Regions from separate parts of the Homo sapiens genome. Here region 1 is linked to region 2. The links are contacts of gene promoters, found by promoter capture Hi-C in human tissues and cell types (Jung and others, 2019). All regions are on one chromosome and are shown on one strand. Each heading gives the region's core, a stretch centred on a gene start or on the middle of the fragment in contact. The rest is flanking DNA. Distances are from core to core; before and after follow the strand shown. Region 1 overlaps ANO4 (anoctamin 4). Region 2 holds the start of ARL1 (ARF like GTPase 1).

Region 1 (2,700 bases), core at 172-2,671, 570 kb before region 2:
ATATAACAAGTCCCGTGTAGGGTCTATAGTCAATCACTTCCACCTGTGGAAAAATAATTAGCTTGTTTGGATGGGGATAGGGAGAAAGAAAACAATTTGGGGAGGGCACTGGGCTCCTCAGTGTGGTAACACAAGGCTGATGGAGAGGAAAAGAGTGTATGAAACTTTGACTGTAGGAGATGCTTAATATGTATTTATTACATAAAATGTATTAAAATAAACTTGTGGTTCTAGCTTCATTAGGTTGTGATAAGGTGGAAGGGCCAGTGTCCTGAGTGTCAGAAAACATGGGTTTTGCATGGCTAGCCCTGCCACCCAGCCACTTAGCTGTGACCCTTTGAACAAGCCATTTCACTTTTCTGGGCTGTGACTTCTTTATTAGTAGAGTGATAGAGTGGGACTAGATGATTTCTAAAATTCCAGACTCTTCTGATTTTTTTCCTGAAGCATGCCACTTGCATTTTAATGAAAATATTGATTGTTAATATTTATTGAGAAGTATAAATGTAGCGGGCTGGTACCGTCTTTATTCCCATATTACAAATGATTCCATTTGTAAGTTAACAATCCTTAAATCTGTTCTGGTGTCAGAGCCAGGGTTTGAACTGAGATCCACCAGTTTCAGGTATGCACATGTTTATGCAACACAGCCTCCAGAATGAAGGCTGATGAAGACAGGGACGCTCATTCCCCACCCCCCAATCCTCTGTGTAAGCTTTGAAGATCACTCTGGAAGAGTCTACCTGTCATGAAAGAACGCAGATGACTTTTTAAGAATATTTATGTAGTCTTATATTTCAGGGTACCTGAGAGGCCCTTTAAGGTCCTAAATTATTTTTTGTTCTATACAGGAATCCTTTCTGTAAAACCCTTGACTAAAACTGTCTCTGCTAAAGGATGGGTATTGGCAGGTGTTGGGGTGAGTTGACGAAAAAGCAAAACAATAGTTTCTGTGAAAATGCATGTTAAAGAGAATTAGCAGTAAATGAACGTGTGTTTCCTTAAATAACCCAACACCCCAATCCACCTAGAACCGATGACTTTTGCTAGTTTTTACCCATCACCTCAGGAGTCATTCTGGTTTCTTGGAAACGTGTAAAGTATCTGCTTAGGGAAATATTATTTTATGTTGCTGATGTTGGGAGGTAGCATCTACTTTAGTTGAGGAATAGTCAGCTAATAGTTCTTTTCTTTGCTGTGCTTTTGCTTATGTATTTGTTCAGACCTGCTGCTTAATGATTTCAGCTGGCCACCTGCCATGTCAAAATCACTTTCCTCTCAAGATCTGTGGAACCAATTTTATCTGAACACAATGGAAAGGAACTCACCATTTTGAGCTACATATGGTCTTAAAGATACCATCTTAAATAAAGAGAAAGTGAAGAAAACATGGTTTCAATCATTAGTTTCTTTCCCAGAGCCACTTTCTCCACCTCTAATATATTGTTTATTTTCTGCTAACACTTTAAACACTTATACTCAGTTAATATTTCAACTCTTGTGTGAGGAATTGGTTTTTATGCTTTCTAGCAGACAGATTGCCTGAGACTGACACTTCTGACCAAGTAAAATAAGCATATTTAAAATGCTCTGTAGCTTATTTTCGCAACGTATTTGTGAACACTAGAACTTCCATATGGAAGGGACTGGGGGAGAGGATGCACACAGTTTGAAAAACTATTCAGGAACTGGAGAGGGTAATGAAAATGAAAAAATGTAACTTATGGCCTCCAATCTATCTTTTCAAAAAGTAATTAAAAACTGAAAAGCAAAAGAATAATTACTTCTTAGTTTAATACCCCCATTCTAACACCTGATGTAATCATTAGGGTTTGATGCAGCTCAAGATAAACATTGTATAAAAAGAGTAATATACAAATGGAATATATTGTCATTCACATGCATAAATAGATTAGCTTACTATTTTAGAGCACTGATTCACTAATTTATATTCAAATTTGTGTTTCTTACCCAATTCATGTTTCTAGCCTCACTTCCATTCCTGAGTCATAGTCAGGATGAATAGTCATAGCCTGAAGATTTAAATTTAGATGTTCTACCATTTACTACCTCATAATTAATCTCAAGTTTTATTCACCACCCCTCCAATTAAGAGGTTCTTCTATTAGTCATTTGATCTTCTATCTCAGTCTTGCTTACACTCCCTTGAAACCACACTTTGATCTTGTCTCAAATCTAAGCTCCACCTTTGTCTTACTAGTTGTGGGTTCTTGAGGAAGGTGTCTAGCAGAGTGTCTGGCTCATAGTAGGAGATTTTAAAGTATTGTTTCTTTTTTCCTTGTCTCAGAGCCTCATCCTTCCCCACCCATCCAGATGATCCTGTTCATTATTCAAAGACTAGATCTGATCACTTCTCTTACATGGACCCCATGGGACTTGCATTCTTCTCTGAGCCAAATAAGGAAACGTATTTGTCCCTTAATAAATACTCTGATTTATTATTTTCTTTTTCATGTTGTATCATTGGAGTTTTTGGATACAAGCAATAGAAAGGATTTGGCTGACATGGGTAAAGAGAGGACCTTTTGGGAGGGCTAAGGTAGCTCACTCGATTCACCAGTCTAGAGAACCAAGCTTGGGAATGGATGGGAAGCAAAGAGGTATCACATGGGTGAGAGACGAGGAATCTGGTGAACAGTCTCATAACAGGAGCAGTTGTTGAGCAAGCCACCACCACCG
Region 2 (2,827 bases), core at 192-2,691:
TAAGGAGGATAGTGGGACAATGTAATCCTCGCACAGGAAAAGTACTGTACAGCAGCAGTACCACTATAACCAACTTCAATCAGAGTTCTCCACGAAGCAATATAGCTAGTACAAGAAATTGAGAAAAAAGCTGAAAACAATAACTATTTTTGACAAAAAACCCACTTTTAAAAATAATAAAGCTCTATCCAATGCATCACAAAATATTCCCAGAAAGCTTCCTGTACACCAAGTATTGTGTAGGATAAAAAGCACAGTCCTTTTCCCATCCAGAGCCATTAGAGAAGATTAAAAACAAGTTACATTAATACAAAAAAAAATAGTTAACATCAGAAGTGATGCCACACTGTTATTTGGCAAAGACATGGCATAACTAAGAGCTGCGAGTTGAAAAATGAACAACACCATGGGCTAGAGAACCTTGGGAAAGTTCAACAGAATAGGTGTGACTTGACAAAGTCCTTTCTACCATTTACAGGTAGAAGAGAGGCGGAACAAAACTGAAGGCGGTTATGGAAGACAGGACAGCGCCTGTGATGCTTGGGAGCAAGAAGTATGCTCCCCAGAAAACTGTGGAGGGATTTAACCAAGCCAAAGAATCTGCACCTTCATTTGGAGGGTGAGAAACGAGTTAAAGAATGTGCACCCTCACTTGGGTTCTAGCGGGGCGAGGGTGTTACCTGATGCTTGTGAGAATGCAGTTCCCTCAATCAGCGGGCCAAGAACCAAGAATAAAGTTTCATTTGCCGACTAGAAATACCCGTATTATTACATGAAACGCTACAGCAGATTAGCAGACAAATGCCAAACTGGCCATAAAACAACATAAGCAACACCTGCTCTCAGGTTTTTCAAACTGACGCCGTCCCAGCGCCCCTGGTAAAGAGAATGATTAAGCTTCCACTCTGGGGCCGCAGCTCATCTTTCACCAAGAAACCTCGGCGAACCTGCGACTGACGCGTTGCCAGCCTCCGCAAGAACAACTCTGCCCAGCAAGTGGAGCTGGGGATGAGGGAAAACTTCATGATAAGGGTAAAGAACTCGAACCCAGGCTCTGCGGACGTCCCCAAGCTGTCCGGGTCCCTGGACCCCGCAGGAATCAAGGGGAACCGAGAGAGGACGGAGGAGAACGCGAGAGGCCGGATCCACCCCTACAGATGAAGATCCAAAGTGAGTCAAGTCCTCCGCGACCCGCCCCCTGAGGAGCTGGCTACTCTAGGGTATCCTGGCCGGCCCCTCTCCTCCTCTGCACCCCAGCCCTCGGCCGCGGCTCCCTCGAGCGCGCCCAGGTGCCCTTCTCGAACCCCTCACCCATGATGAACCCCCTGTCCTCCCTCGCCGATCTTCAGTGATTCCTTGGCCTTCGGCTGCAGCTCCGAGGCGGTTTCCTCGCAAGCCCAGTCAGCCAGCAACTTCCACGTCGGACTCCAGGCGGGGGCGGGAGCGAGGGTCAGCTGCGACTGCGCGCCGGGAACGGTGGCCTGAGCATCCGCGTCGTCGCTTTCGACTCACGGTCCCCGCTCACTGGATGTAGATACCGTGGAGGCCAGAAGAGACGAATAATTCAAAAACCTGAAGTCTCTCCTGCTTGTGTTTTTCTGGACAGAAAGAGCTTCTGAAATAGAGAAATTGGAATTTTTGTTTTAAATTCTGACACCAAAAAGTGGCGAATCTGACAACTGAAAATGCGAGTCGGGCCTCGATGAGTCGTCCCGGTCGAACGCTGGCGCAGGCTGCGGCGTTGCAGAGGACGCGTGTCCCGGAGCGCCCTGCGGGGCCAGCCCAACTCTCCCTAGGTGCTTTCTCCCAGAAAGAAACAAGACTACGTAATAATAATAGGAATGGTACCGCGCTGCCAATGCGGAGCAGCCTTGCACCTGAGGCCAGTAACCAGAGGTTTTTGTCTTCGCTGTGGCCTGCAGGACGAGGACCTCGCCGGCTTTTTTTCTCGCTGACCGAGCAGCTGAGACCGCCTTTCAGGGGTCGGCAGTGTGGACTGGCTGGTCCCGATCGTGGGGACCAGGGACTTATTCCCTCGAGGGTCGACTGTTGGAAGTAATGTAGGTTTTGATAGTGAAGTGTGTGGAGAGGAAGAAGGAAGCACACCTATAGGATGTGGAGAAGGGATTTCCCCTAGAGAAATTTTTAAAGGTTGAGCATGTATGTTTTGAAACTTCCCAAAGATCCATTGAAAAGTGAACCTTCCGGCCGGGCGCGGTGGCTCACGCCTGTAATCCCAGCACTTTGGGAGGCCGAGGCGGGCGGATCACGAGGTCAGGAGATCGAGACCATCGTGGCTAACACGGTGAAACCCCGTCTCTACTAAAAATACAGAAAATTCACCAGGCGTGGTGGCGGGCGCCTGTAGTCCCAGCTACTCAGGAGGCTGAGGCAGGAGAATCACTTGAACTCAGGAGGCAGAAGTTGCAGTGAGTCGAGATCGTGCCACTGCACTCCAGCCTGGGCGACAGAGCGACACTCCGTCTCAAAAAAAAAAAGAGAAAAGTAAACCTTCCATCCCTAATACCCTGTATCTCGGTGATCCCCAGTAGTCACTACTGTTAATACTCTCTTAGGTTTTCTTCCAAATCTTATTAATACCTTTGCATATTATGTTTTTATTTATGGTAGAGATTTTCATCCATTCAACAGAAGCTTATGGACTGCCTTTTTAGTTTATTTTAAAAGAATTTTTCTAGCTTTAAATAAAAATTGTATATATTTACAGTGTACCATGTGATGTTTTCATAGTTGTATATGTTGTGAAATGATAACATACCCATCACCTCACATAGTCGTGTGTGCTTGTGTGTATATGTTTATTTTG

The links. Contacts are between HindIII fragments. The study calls those that stand out against the background at their distance.
Region 1: a contact is called between a fragment that was not itself captured here and the fragment with the promoter of ARL1 in region 2, in 1 of the 25 tissues and cell types used here (dorsolateral prefrontal cortex).

The regions. Positions count from the first base shown.
Region 1 is chr12:100,831,457-100,834,156 of GRCh38, forward strand. The region is part of intron 1 of ANO4 (anoctamin 4); the gene reads left to right. Among named protein-coding and RNA genes, the nearest start is that of ANO4, 38 kb to the left of the region's middle. The HindIII fragment of the contact is 4,551 bases long and covers 1-2,700 here.
Region 2 is chr12:101,406,331-101,409,157 of GRCh38, forward strand. It overlaps ARL1 (ARF like GTPase 1), which reads right to left and starts at 1,442. Exons shown (of 6, transcript NM_001177.6): 1 at 1,312-1,442. The coding sequence starts at 1,315. RefSeq lists enhancers at 925-974, 1,055-1,104. The HindIII fragment of the contact is 11,101 bases long and covers 558-2,827 here.